Regions from separate parts of the Homo sapiens genome. Here regions 1, 2, 4 and 5 are each linked to region 3. Evidence: promoter capture Hi-C in 16 types of primary human blood cells and fetal thymus (Javierre and others, 2016). All regions are on one chromosome and are shown on one strand. The core of a region is centred on a gene start or on the middle of the fragment in contact, and the rest is flanking DNA. Distances in the headings are between cores, read along the strand shown. Region 1 has its middle 55 kb from the start of UBIAD1. Region 2 has its middle 71 kb from the start of UBIAD1. Region 3 holds the start of AGTRAP (angiotensin II receptor associated protein). Region 4 has its middle 4.3 kb from the start of MTOR. Region 5 overlaps MTOR (mechanistic target of rapamycin kinase).

Evidence for each region. The method cuts DNA at HindIII sites, captures the fragments that hold promoters and counts their contacts. A CHiCAGO score of 5 or more calls a contact.
Region 1: a fragment that was not itself captured here is called in contact with the fragment with the promoter of AGTRAP in region 3 in 4 of 17 cell types (naive CD4 T cells, non-activated CD4 T cells, naive CD8 T cells and 1 more); the score reaches 5.2 in naive CD4 T cells.
Region 2: a fragment that was not itself captured here is called in contact with the fragment with the promoter of AGTRAP in region 3 in 2 of 17 cell types (naive CD8 T cells and total CD8 T cells); the score reaches 5.3 in naive CD8 T cells.
Region 4: a fragment that was not itself captured here is called in contact with the fragment with the promoter of AGTRAP in region 3 in 4 of 17 cell types (naive B cells, fetal thymus, total CD8 T cells and 1 more); the score reaches 5.6 in naive B cells.
Region 5: a contact is called between a fragment that was not itself captured here and the fragment with the promoter of AGTRAP in region 3, in 10 of 17 cell types (total CD8 T cells, naive CD4 T cells, naive CD8 T cells and 7 more). The highest score is 12.9, in total CD8 T cells.

Annotation. Positions count from the first base shown.
Region 1 is chr1:11,326,359-11,329,127 of GRCh38, reverse strand. No RefSeq gene overlaps it. Among named protein-coding and RNA genes, the nearest start is that of UBIAD1, 55 kb to the right of the region's middle. The HindIII fragment of the contact is 1,862 bases long and covers 409-2,270 here.
Region 2 is chr1:11,342,450-11,345,149 of GRCh38, reverse strand. No RefSeq gene overlaps it. Among named protein-coding and RNA genes, the nearest start is that of UBIAD1, 71 kb to the right of the region's middle. RefSeq lists an enhancer at 1,045-1,545. The HindIII fragment of the contact is 1,744 bases long and covers 452-2,195 here.
Region 3 is chr1:11,734,878-11,737,577 of GRCh38, reverse strand. AGTRAP (angiotensin II receptor associated protein) reads right to left here and starts at 1,442. Exons shown (of 5, transcript NM_020350.5): 1 at 1,343-1,442. The coding sequence starts at 1,369. The HindIII fragment of the contact is 3,809 bases long and covers 338-2,700 here.
Region 4 is chr1:11,265,450-11,268,162 of GRCh38, reverse strand. No RefSeq gene overlaps it. Among named protein-coding and RNA genes, the nearest start is that of MTOR, 4.3 kb to the right of the region's middle. The HindIII fragment of the contact is 1,977 bases long and covers 357-2,333 here.
Region 5 is chr1:11,243,063-11,245,762 of GRCh38, reverse strand. It overlaps MTOR (mechanistic target of rapamycin kinase), which reads left to right. Exons shown (of 58, transcript NM_004958.4): 9 at 2,463-2,649. Among named protein-coding and RNA genes, the nearest start is that of MTOR, 18 kb to the left of the region's middle. The HindIII fragment of the contact is 3,070 bases long and covers 1-2,700 here.

The DNA.
Region 1 (2,769 bases), core at 90-2,589, 410 kb after region 3:
CCAGCCAATGAACCAGGTAGCTGATGCACCAGGTAACCAGTGAATCAGGTAACTGATGCGTATCCTGTCCCTCCTGGCACTTGTCCCTGCTTCCCAGTGTCCCCTGCTTCTCCCATTCACAGTGCCTGGTCTCCCAGCTCCTACCCACCTGGAAGGATTGACAGATGAGAGTGAAGGAGTCAGGGGCACTGGGTTGAGACATTCCAAACATTATTGATTTCCAACGTCCCCAGCCATCTCCTCCTCTGAGATCCCAGCCAGGAAAGGGACAGTGCCGGGCCCGGGCAGGACAGAACACGGAGGAAACATTGGCCTGCCTCTGGTCCCTCTGACTTCTCATAAGAAGTTAATAAAATTGCAGGCAAGGATGACCCAGAGGACATGATTTACTCACGGTGGGGAAAAGCTTTCAATAAGCTCCCTCCATAAAAGGCCATTAAGGGAGCGGAATTACCACAGGCTAAGGGGCAAGTGTTATGGATTCCAGAGTGGTTTAAGCAGAGGAATTAAAGAGGCATTCAGAGCCGGGAGACATTATTAATAACCACACCAGGCACTTTTAAAGGCCTTCATCGCAGCCAGCTGTGACGGCACTAACTCCTTGGCTCTTGGGCCTCTAGTGGAGATGGGACGGGCAAGCTGAGGATCAGCTCATTCCACTTTTAGGCTGGATCAGTGGATGGGAGGGCTGAGGTCTTAGAGCCGAGGGGTTCCCAGGAGATTCCCGGATCACACACTTTCTGGTGCTGAAAGATCAAACTCCAGGAAGGAAGGGCCTGCCTCCAATCTCACTAGCAGGGCTGAGGAGGCTTGTGCCGTCAAGGAGCATGTGGGGCCGGGCGCGGTGGTTCATGCCTGTAATCCCAGCACTTTGGGAGGCCAAGGCGGGCGGATCACTTGAGTCCGGGAGATCGAGACCAGCCTGGGTAACATGGCAAAACCCCATCTCTACAAAAAAATACAAAAATTCGCCGGGCGTGGTGGTGTATACCTGTAGTCCCAGCTACTTGAGAGGCTAAGGCAGGAGGATCAACTGAGCCCGGGAAGTCGAAGCTGCGAAGATGCAGTGAGCTGTGATTGTGCCACTGCACTCCAGCCTGGGAGACACAGCGAGACCCTGTCTCAAAAAAAAAAAAAAAAAAAAAAAAAAAACCACTTCAGAGCAGAGAGACTCCACCTTTCCCATCCAGAGGGTCCAGGAGAGGGAGAGCTCCCTGAGGAGGAGGAGGCTGCTCTTCCTGGCCTCCTGCTCTCCAGGACCCTAGTGAAGCCTGCACGCAGGCCTGAAGAAGCTGAGTCTCCCCTATTATATGGGCCGCCCTATCCTACCCGGATCACAGGCTCAGTCACGGAGCACCTTTCTCTCCTGGATGAAAAGTCCAAATCCACTTGCTTCCACCCTCTCCTCCCAACCCATTTTCAAAGCTCAGTTCAAGCAATACCCTTTTCACAAAGCCCCCTGAGCTGCACCCTCTCCACTCCCTGTGCTCCATAATGCGGGCAGACAAGGACCCTGCTTCCACAAGGTTCCAGCCCAGCTCTTCCCACTCAGTGCCCGCTTCAGGTCTTCCGAGAGGCCTGTGCTCCTGGAGACAGGTGGGCACAGAGAGGCCCTGGAAGGACCTGGACAAACTCTGTAGGGGGCTGAATTCTGAGCAGGGTCACCTGGCACCTCCATCCTGGCTCCACCCCAGCTCTGTCCTCTGCAAGTTCTCCTTCCCAGAATGTATCTCTCCCTCTGAAATTAGCATTCCTTTTAAATGTTTTCACACTCTCAAATCATTCCTTAAATGTATGTATTAACTGCCAAAATGACTTGCCTTAGCTGCTTCACCCGGCCTCACATTAATCTCACACAACCCTATTACACTTAACATGCCTCGTCCTCTCCGCTCAGCCTCATAAACTCAGGGCGACTTCAGAACCGTCCTTGGTGCCCATGGCTTGCAGCCGCAGAGGGCCGGATGCCACCTGGAGGGCCAGGGGGAGGAACCACTGTCCCACTGGGCCTAACGGCCACAGGTCGGGGGGCTTAGGGCCAGAGACCCCAGGGAAAGCTGCCTGCCTCAGCTGCCCCTTTCTGAGCTACTCGCTGCACCAGCAGCATCACCTTGACCTTAGGAGGGTGACTTTCACCTTTCCTAAGGGAGAAAGCTGAGTATGAGAACTGAAGTCCCTGGCCCAAGCAAAAGCCAGGATGTGAACCCCAGGCACTCTGGGTCCAAAGCCCAAGCCCTTGGCTGCCACACTGCACTCCCCAAGGAGAAGCTTGCAGAAAGGAGGTGATGAGGCCGAGAGCGGTGGCTCACGCCTGTAATCCCAGCACTTTGGGAGGCCCAGGTGGGCAGATCACTTGAGATCAAGAGTTCAAGACCAGCCTGGCCAACATGGTGAAACCCCGTCTCTACTAAAAATACAAAAATTAGCTGGGCGTTCTGTAAGTTCTCCTTCCCAGAATGTATCTCTCCCTCTGAAATTAGCATTCCTTCTAATTTGGTGGTGGCACACGCCTGTAGTCCCAGCTACTTGGGAGGCTGAGGCAGAAGAATCACTTGAACCTGGGAGGTAGAGTTTGCAGTGAGCTGAGATCACCCCCATGCATTCCAGCCTGGGCGACAGAGCGAGACTCTGTCTAAAAAAAAAAAAAAAAGTAGGTGATGGGCAGGAGATGGTCTTGGCCACCTACTGACTGTGTGACCTCAGGCAAGGGCAATTAAGAGATAAAAGCAGGCCTTTATTATTTATAATTCTTCACTATAATCATACATT
Region 2 (2,700 bases), core at 74-2,573, 390 kb after region 3:
TAGGGCATCTTCCCCAACCGTTAAGCTGAGTTGGGCCCCTGCCTCTGGGCTTCAGGGACCTGGACCCCCCAGTTCTGGCACTTCTTCCACTGCACTGTAACCATCTTTGTGCTAGTGCTCCCTCCACCTCCCCAACCTGCCCACCACACATTGGATTGTAAACTATGTGACCTTGGCAGGCTTTGGCCCCCGAGGGGTTTGAATCCAAGCTCTGCCTCTTACTAGCTGTGTGAACTTCGGTGAATTACTTAACCTCTCTGTGCCTGGATCTCCTCTTCTGTACAGTCAGAATGACAAAAATAGAACGGACCTCATAGGGCTGTTGTGAGCGTTTAATGTATTCAGCCAGTGAAAGTGCTCGGCCCAGTGCTTCTCAGAGCTCGGGAAGTGGTCAGTCCCTCATCCCTCCTCTGCCATTCCAACATCCCCAAAGCTCTGAGACCAAAAAGCTTTTCAAAACTCATTTGGCAGCAAAACCTAAACTGAACTGACCTTAGAGATACTTAACAGTCTGTATCCCACTATTCACATGTATTTCGCTACAGAAATATGAATATGTTGGAGTCGTCTGTAATATAGGGAACATTACATTAATAAAATCTGAAAACAATTTTGAAATCTGAAATGCACGTGGCCCCAACAGCTTCTTTGCGGAACTGTGGCCGACAGCACTCTCATGATTTTCATGAAGGATAGCATGTTAATATCAACTGCCTGAGAGCCAGGACCGTGCGTGTCTTATTCAGCACTGGGCCTGGCACAGAGCAGTTCTCCATAAACTGGGTGACAGTTGGGACAGTGACTGGAGCTAGCCCTGCTTCCCTGACTTTCTAGGAGGCTGTGCCCTGCCACCCATCTCCTCGGAGCCCCAAGCCCAGGCCCAACCTACTCACTTCCCCCAGGTCACCCCTTGCTGTTGGTGGCAGAAGCGGGGTTGAAACCTTCCCCTCACCTGCCTCCCTGAGGACTACCTGGGTTTGCGCAGGGAGGGGATCACTCATTCCAAATCTCAGCTGAGGAGCAGGAAGCTGCCTGGGGAGCTGCCACCACATCCCTGCTTTCCAGGCCCCAGGACAGGCCCACTCTTCCAGGAAGGCATGAGGCTGCTCTCAGACCTTCCCTGCCCTCTCCCCACAATGGCACATTAGGAGGAGGCTGGACGGGAAGGACTCGCCAGCTGAAATTAAACTAAGCACCAATCTGGCCAGGTGCAGTGGCTTACACCTGTAATCCCAGCACTTTGGGAGGCTGAGGCGGGCGGATTGCTTGAGGCCAGGAGTTCGAGACCAACCTGGCAACATGGTGAAGCCCTGTCTCTACTAAAAAAAAAAAAAAAAAAAACAAGCCAGGCCTGGTGTCAGGCACCTGCAATCCCAGCTACTCAGGAAGCTGAGGCATGAGAATTGCTTGAACCTGGGAGGTGGAGGTTGCAGTGAGCCAAGATCATGCCGCTGCACTCCAGCCTGGGCAACAGAGCAAGACACTGTCTCAAAAAGCAAACAAACTAAGCACCGATCTGTGCTGGGCCCCAGTGTGTATTGATAGGTATAGATATGCACAGGTATGGATTAGCTATATATCTAGACATGGAGGATACAAGCAGCTACAAACACCTTCACCTGCTTAATCGTCACATCAAACACGTGGGTGGGTGCCATTAATGTTCAGTGGGTTCTAATGAATAAACCCACCACCTCCTCCACCAAGTTCAGATCCAATCAAGAGAGAGACACTGAAATCCCATGGATAAAGGTCCAAATGGCAGTTTGAACATCTACCAAAAGCTGAATGGCAGAATGTGACAGGGTGGGGAAGTCTGAGAGCATTACGCCCCTGCTCATGGAAACACGAAGCCCATTTTGTAGATGAGGAAACGGAGGCAAGTCAATGAGGAACAGGAATTTGAACCCAGGTTATCCTGTCTCCAGGTATCAATGTAAATCTGTATCTAGCCTACCCCTAGATCATCTACATGCCTCGGGATCTCCAGGATCCAAGGCACAATGATTCTGATAGCAAAAGAAGCCAAGAGGAGTGGAGCCTGCAGCAGAGCCCTGGGGTCTAGGCAAAGGCTGGTCCATGATTTCCCTCCTGGCTCCTCCCCTCCTGCTCCTCTCCCCACCTCCCCTCTTCTCCCCTGTCCTTATCCTTCCCTGTCAGATCACTATCATTCATTTCCCTCTGGTTACCAAGCTTGGCGAGGCAGCTTTCCTGGTTCCATGTCTGATCTGCATGCCTGAGCCAAGAAAAGGACTTGCTTTCAGGAGCCACTTCCTCCTCCAGCTCATTAAACAGCTGGTCCCCTTGTCTGGGTTCAACAGTCAAAAGCCTAATCCATGTCTGGCAGCTGGAACAAATCCTACCAGGGACTCAAACAGCCCCACCTGTGGGGAGAGTAGGAGACCCAGCCGCTCGCTGGAAAGCCAATTTCGAGACAGCGCTCTCTGAGGCTGCACTAATTTTGTCTCATGTTCCAGAGCTGCAGTCACTTTATAAATCCGGCAGAGAATGCTGCCAAGGGTTCAAGAACAGGGTTCCAAGACCCGAGATTAGGCCAATGCTGTTCCCTATCCCCCAGGAAAGGCCCCCCAGGACAGCTTGCCCCTGCAGCAAAAATGGCCAATGCTTCCTTTTATAAATCAACCCCATATGGGCTTTCCAGGATTCTGAGGTTGCATCTGGGCTCAGCACGAAGGAGTC
Region 3 (2,700 bases), core at 193-2,692:
GTCTAAGCTGAAGTTTGCTCATCTGTAAAAAGATGACCATATCAGCTTTCTCATAAGGCTGCCTTGATTAAATAACCTGGCACACCACAGAAGCCCATAAATTAGAGCTCTGTCCCTCCCACTGCCCTCACCTGATCCTCTGTCAGCAATTATTTTAAGCAAATCCCTCATCAGAGAAAAGGCAGTTGGTGTTAACCCCACATTGCCTGGAATAGAGTGCATATTGATACCAACAAGCCTCGGCTGCTGTCACGTAAATTTCTTCCCAGCTGAACGTTCCATCCAAGCCCATTCCCTTGCTCCAGCCATGTCTCCCCACCACCTTTGACTGGAAGCTTCAGGAAGGTTTGCTGAAGCAAGTATGATTAAGAAGGGAAACATGCCTATAGCAAGTCATAGCACAGATGTTGTGTAATAATAAAGTGTATTAAGCCATTGTTTTGTAACCATCTATTTCTCAGGTTCCTTTAGTCCCAGACACCAACAGGGAGCTAAATGCTCTGTCATTCATGAGTAAGAGGACATTCCTGGATATTGCCTCAAAGGAGGCTGCACTAAGACCCAAAATGGCCGGTTTGGTCCAAGGTCCACACCTTCCTGACCAAAACTACAGCCCCTAGCCCCTCTAATGCAAATGGAGCCCAGACACGTGGGCGGCGGGGCTGGGCGGGGAGAAAAAGAACAGCCGCTGGCACCCAGACCCGGACTGAGCTCACGGCTCGGGAAATGAAGACACCACAGGAAGCCCTGCAGTGTTTTCCCCAGTGCACAAAGTTGGGGTTTTCTGCTTTTAAGTAATTTCTGTTGGAGTTCGCGCTTCTTGATTATGAAATAAGGGCGCTGGATGTGTAAACTTTATAAAACCAACTGCTTGGGAACATCTGATTTCCTTAACCCGACTTAGCAAACAAGGAGGCTCCTGAAACGGTGCTGGGACCCGGGGGGCAAGCCCAGTCCCTGACCCCGCGCGGGGGAGGTGAGCCGCCTACAAGCCCCTCCCGCGCACCTTCCTCCTCCTCCAGGGGAATTCTGGGCGTGCAGGCAACAGCAATGCTGGGACCGGCGCTGCCCGCTGGGAGGGTCTGAGTCCGGGAGGGGGCGGCCCTTGCCCTCCGCTGCCACCTCCCACGGCCCCTCAGTGTCGCCCTGCTGGCCTGTGCCTGGATCACTCTCCCTGCTGTGGCCTGCCTGCCCATCTCCTTCTTGCGTGGGGTCTGTACCTTCCCTTCCTCCCTACCATCCCTCTTTCCCCAAAACTCCGGTCCTTCCTCCCACCTTCCGGGAAAATGCAAATGTCCCACTTCCTCCCGCAAAGGGGACCCTCCCCCCAGCCCGTCGCCACCTTCAGGTTCACAGCAGGCAGCTCCATCCCGACTCAGGCCGAGGGCACCTGCGCCGCAGCCGCGGGGGGCTCCTAGGCTCCGAACTCGGGGAACAAACTTGCCCGGCCCCGCCCCGCCCCGCCCGTTGCGGCCACTCCAACCCCAGCGCAGCTCAAGACCACGTGAAACGGGCTGGAGCGGGTCACGTGACCGCCGCTTGGTTGCTAGGAGACGGCGTCGGCAGCTCGCGCCTTCAGCCAAGCTCCAGACTCCCGCCACCGCCCAGGCAGTACTTGGGGGCCGCTGGCGAAAGTTGGAGTTTCTGTCGCCCAGGGCGTATCCTGCCTGGCTAATATTCCAGGAAGCGGACTGTTCGGACTGCCTGCAGCCAGGACAACTGGGGGACCGTCCAGGCGCAAAGTGCTGATGTGGCAACAGCTTGTGTCTCATCCTTGGGGGCACCCTCTCTCCTTCCCACTTCCCTGTGTAAATGGGCTATTTAGGCTACCTACCTCATATGATCCTTATGAGGATTAAATGAGCTAACTGCTGTTGTTAAAGAAAACGTTATTGGGACTGTTGTTAAACCAGTACTGTTCAAGACTTGCTGTAGGGTTATTGCCATGGAGTGAGAGTTTGGGCTCAACACCGAATACAACAAGGACCAAGGAGGGATTTATAGCCAGAGCAGAATGAGGGAGCAGGAATGGAAGATTCCTAGGAGGAGACATCAAGGATGGGGGAGTTCTTGCTAACTTAGCAGGACTCTTGCTGAAACTGGTTTATTATGCAGGCTCAGGCCCAGCAAGGACAGGAAGACACAGAGGTCCAAGGCCGAGGCCTAGTCAAGATGAGGACTCAGAGGAGTCTAACTACGGTTTGTTCTAGGAGAGAACAGTGCCCGGCACTTAGTAAATGGGCAGGACACACAAGCTATTGTTATTACCAACACAAGATGAGGCTGGGCGCAGTGGCTCACCCCTGTTATCCCAGCACTTTGGGAGGCCAAGGAGGGTGGATCACCTGAACTCAGTAGTTCGAGACCAGCCTGGCCAACATGGTGAAACCCCGTCTCTACTAAAAATACCAAAATTAGCAGGGCATGGTGGTGTGCACCTGCAGTCCCAGCTACTCAGGAGGCTGAGGCACGAGAATTGCTTGAACCGGGGAGGCTGCAGTGAGCCGAGATCACGCCACTACACTCCAGCCTGGACGACAGGGTGAGACCTTGTCTGGGAAAAACAAACAAACAAAAAGCAACACCTGAGGAGCCAAATTGGTGGGAGCCCACTTTAATCAGCATACCAAAAGTTTTAGAAAACTCTAGCTGAAAAACCATAAGAAATTCCTCCCCCAATTGTACATGAGGAAAGAAAGG
Region 4 (2,713 bases), core at 96-2,595, 470 kb after region 3:
ACAGAGCGAGACTTGGTCTCAAAAAAAAAAAAAAAGTACAAAAATTAGCTGGCATGGTGGCGCACACCTGTAATCCCAGCCACTCGGGAGGCTGAGGCAGGAGAATCGTTTGAACCCGGGAGGTGGAGGTTGCGGTGAACTGAGATCACACCACTGCACTCCGAGTGAGACTCCATCTCAAAATAAAATAAAATAAATCAGGGAGGAAGGGAGGGAGAGAAATGAAAATAAACAAAGCTTGCAGCACATTCAGCATTCATCATGAGGTCATGTTGAACTCTGAGCCATTTCCTCATAGTTGTTTGCTGCCTACTGTCCCAGAATCATGCGGACCCTGTCATCAGACAACTTAAGCTTGCAAAACATTGTTTTCCACCTGAGGTATTCTTTCAGGTCCTGCATATCAGTGAAACTACTGATGACAGCCATTGTGAAAGACCCCACAGGGAGCTAACTCACCAAAGAATGCAGTTTCTACATCCTGATGATTTCACCCCCTTTACCCCAACCCATAAACGATACCAAATTTCCAGCCTCTCCCCCTCTACAATCCCCTTAAAAACCCCAGCTCAGGCCGGGCACGGTGGCTCACTCCTGTAATCCCAGCACTTTGGGAGGCCGAGGTGGGCAGATCAAGAGGTCAGGAGTTTGAGACCAGCCTGACCAACACGGTGAAACCGTGTCTCTACTAGAAATACAAAAATTAGCCGGGTATGGTGGCACACACCTATAATCCCAGCTACTCAAAAGGCTGAGGCACAAGAATTGCTTGAACCTGGGAGGCAGAGGTGGCAGTGAGCTGAGATCCTGCCACTGCACTCCAGCCTGGGCAACAGAGCGAGACTCTGTCTCAAGAAAAAACAAAACAAACAAACAAACAAACAAACCCAGCTCAGAATTCCTTGGGGAGATGGATTTGAAGGTCTCCTCCTGTTACAGTAGATAGCTAGTCAGGCATGAGCAGAGCAGGAGAGGCCCCCACCCCCTAACCCCAGGAATGTCAAGCAACCATTGGGTGATGGTCAGGCAGTTGTTAAGCTATCTCGCTAAAATAATAATTGATTGCAGCTGGTGCCAGAGAAAGGCAGTCTCCCAAAAGATAGAAACACCTGAAACTGGTGATCAGCAGCTTCCCATAAGATCTCAGGAGCTGGGCGAGTAGGCTCAAGCATGGGCACTAAGAGGCAAAATCGCAGATGATCACTAACAGGCAAAATCGCCGATGATCTTCCTCTAGGAACACTGGACTGGTAAGGGAAACACATCTTGAGTGAGCATGCCCACAACTCCAGTAAACACACTGCACATGCGCCCCTACCCAAGTGCTGACAGGCCACCATGCATGTGGACAGCCCACCCCAAGGGAAGAATCAGGGGAGAAGGGATGCAAGACCCTGGAAGTATGCCAACCCCGAGTCAAGGTCAAACAGCGCACTTGATCTCTCAGGTCAACTGCTTGGTTCTCTTCCAAGTGTCCTTTACTTCCTTTCATTCCTGCTCTAAAGCTCTTTAATAAACTTCGCTCCTGTTCTAAAACTTGCCTCAGTCTCTCACTCTGCCTTATGCCCCTCAGTTGAATTCTTTCTTCTGAGGAGGCAAGAACTGAGCTTGCTGCAGACCATGTAAATTCAGCGCTGGTAACACTCCCATCTCCTCAGTTGGCTGCCCTGCGATCACTAAACTCTTTCTCTGCTGCAGACTCTGCTGTCTCATTGCATTGGTCAACTGTTGCTGTGCAGCAGGCATAGAATCCTGTTGGAACTACAAGAGAAAGATCTACAAGATGCAGTAAAATTTTAAAAATGCAAAATAGTGCGTATAGTATAACAAAAGGGGAAAATAAAAATATATGTATGGGCTGGGCATGGTGGCTCGTGCCTGTAATCCTAGCATTTTGGGAGGCTGAGGCAAGCGGATCAACTGAGGTCAGGAGTTTGAGACCAGCTTGGCCAATGTGGTGAAACCTTGTCTCTACTAAAAATAAAAAAATTAGCCACGCATGATGGCACAGACATGTAATCCCAGCTATTGGGGAAGCTGAGGCAGGAGAATCACTTTAACCTGGGAGGCAGAGGTTGCAGTGAGCCAAGATCATGCCACTGCACTCCAGCCTGGGCGACAGAGTGAGACTCTGTCTCAAAAAAAAAAAAAAAAAAAAAAAGGAATATACATACGTATATATTTGCTTGTTTTTGCAGACAGAAAATCTAGGGATGCATAAGAAACTGAGAAAATACATAGTCAAGGGGCAAGGGTGGAGCAAGACTTTTCATGATAAATGTAACTTGTTTATTTTGAGATTTGAATAGCGACTATATTGCATATTAGAAGCTTTTAATGATAAAAATATAGATGTTGGGCCAGGCACAATGGCTCACGCCTGTAATCCCAGCACTTTGGGAGGCTGAAGCAGGCGGATCACCTGAGGTCAGGAGTTCAAGACCAGCCTGGCCAACATGGCGAAACCCTGTCTCTACTAAAAATACAAAAATTAGCTGGGTGTGGTGGCAGGTGCCTGTAATCCCAGCTACTCAGGAGGCTGAGGCACGAGAATCACTTGAACCCAGGAGGCGGTGGTTGTAGTGAGCCGAGATTGCGCCACTGCACTCCTGCCTGGGTACCAGAACGAGACTCCATCTAAAAAAAAAAAAAAAAAAAAAAATTGAACATCAGTGAAAATGTAAAATTTAGAGGAATACTTATCTCACAGGAG
Region 5 (2,700 bases), core at 27-2,526, 490 kb after region 3:
AATTTTTTAAATTTATTTTTTGTAGAGATGATTTGGGATCTCACTGTGTTGCCCAGGCTGGTCTTGAACTCCTGGGCTCAAGCAATTCTCCTGCCTTGGCCTCCCAAAGTGCTTGGGATTACAGACATGAGCTGTGGCGCCTTGCCAGGAAATTATGCTCTTGATTTTACCCCGTTTCCTGCCGAAATGCTATCCCCTTAGTTTTTCTTGTTGACCCACTCTAATTTTAGGGTTGTATCTCCTTGGTCACCTGTCTTCAAGCCCCAGCATGCCTCATTGTCATTTGACCACAAGAGCCATGGGAGAAAACATTTCTCAGAGTAAATGCAGTCATAGCATGTGCTATTTTAGAAGTCTAATTCATTGTCTAAATGTGGTTCTGGTAGCTTTCAGTATCCCTAACTTCCTAAGGGATGTGTGGTTTTCCCTTCTCTCCTATTTTATGTGTACTACTGGTGCCTGGACTTGGGACCAACATCAATGGAAGAGAAGAAATAAATAGACAAGAAGCAAGAATCAGGAAATTCCAGCCTTCAGAGGAGAAATAACACTTTAGCTTGGATTGTATGAGAATCGCCTACCCATGCACACTGGCTTATGTGAACCTAATGAAAATATACATGTGGCTTTCCAAATTATAGACTAAATCTTCTTCTATTAAATATAACTGTCATAAAAATCTCTAGGTAATAGCAAAATGATTTCCAGGCCTATGCTGAATGGAATGGCCTGTTTATTGCAAACAGTGCTCAGTATTACAGTCATATATTGCTTAACGATGGGGATACATTCTGAGAAATGCGTCTTAGGAGAATTTGTCCTTGTGTGAACATCATAGAATGTATTTACATAAACCCAGATGGTATAGCCTACTCTACACCTAGCTCTGTGGTGTAGCCTATTGCTCCTGGGCTACAACTTGTACAGCATGTTACTGTAATGAATATTCTAGGCAACTGTAAAACAGTGGTAAATGTTTGTGTATCTAAACATAGACATAGAAAAGATATGTAAAAATATACTGTATTATAATCTTATGGGACCACCATCATATACATGGTCCATTGTTAACCCAAACGTTGTTAAGTGGCACACGACTGTACTGTTTTTTTGTTTGTTTGTTTGTTTTTCTGAGACAGAGTCTTGCTCTGTTGCCCAGGCTGGAGTGCAGTGGCACGATCTTGGCTCACTGCAACCTCTGCCTCCCGGGTTCAAGTGATTCTCCTGCGTCAGCCTTCCGAGTAGCTGGGATTACAGGCGCACTACCATGCCTGGCTAATTTTTTGTATTTCAGTAGAGACGGGGTTTCATCATGTTGTGCAGGCTGGTCTCAAACTCCTGAGCTCAGGCAGTCCACCCGCCTTGGCCTCCCAAAGTGTTGGGATTACAGGCGTGAGCCACCGCGCCCGACCCTGTACTGGTTTTTTATTAGTTTGAGATGGGGTCTTTTTTTTTTTTTTTTTTTTAAATGAGATGTAGTTTTGCTCTTGTTGCCCAGGCTGGAGTGGAATGGCGTGATCTCGGCTCACCGCAACCTCCGCCTCCCGGGTTCAAGCGATTCTCCTGCCTCAGTCTCCTGAGTAGCTAGGATTACAGGCATGCACCCTTATGTCCGGCTAATTTTGTATTTTTAGTAGAGATGGGGTTTCTTTATGTTGGTTAGGCTGGTTTCAAACTCCTGACCTCAGGTGATCCTCCTGCCTTGGTGTCCCAAAGTGCTGGGATTACAGGCATGAGCCACTGCATCTGAGACAGGGTCTTATTCTGTTGCCCAGGCTGGAGTGCATGGCTCTTGGCTCAGTGCGGCCTCAAACTCCTGGACTCAAGTGATGTTCCTCAGCCTCCCAAAGTGCTGGGATTACATGTGTGAGACACTGCACCCGGCCCATGACTGTACTTCAAATTTCATTATAATGTAAAATTGTTTAGATGATCTTCTGTTTTTAAACAAGGTTTGACATATATTTCTTCAGCAAGAGCATGTAATTCTTGTGTGAAAATGTAACAGTAATGGAGACAATTCTGTGATATTGTTTTGGCAACCTTTTACGTTTTTTGGGTTTTTTTTTTTTTTTGAGACAGGCTCTTTGTCACTCAGGCTTGAGTGCAGTGCTGCACACGATCACACCTTTCTGCAGCCTCAACCATCTGGGCTCAAGTGATCCTCCTGCCTCAGCCTCCCGAGTAGCTGGGATTACAGGCATGCACCACCACACCTGGCTAATTTTTATTTTTGTAGAGACAGGGTCTCACTGTGTTGCCCAGGCTGTTTCGAACTCCTGGCCTCAAACACTCCTCTCTCCTTGGCCTCCCAAAGTGTTGGGATTACAGGTGTGAGCCACTGTGCCTGGCCACTTTCTTAATTTATTCTTAAACTGAATTGCTTTATAGGACCTTTGACTGTTGATATGTAGACCCTAACCCTGACCTGGAGCTATCTACTTTGTCTTTTCTGTGCTCAGATACCCAGTATCTCCAAGATACCATGAACCATGTCCTAAGCTGTGTCAAGAAGGAGAAGGAACGTACAGCGGCCTTCCAAGCCCTGGGGCTACTTTCTGTGGCTGTGAGGTCTGAGTTTAAGGTCTATTTGCCTCGCGTGCTGGACATCATCCGAGCGGCCCTGCCCCCAAAGGACTTCGCCCATAAGTAAGCACCTCTGTTATGATTTCACCTTCCACTCCATTTGGTTGGAGAGGA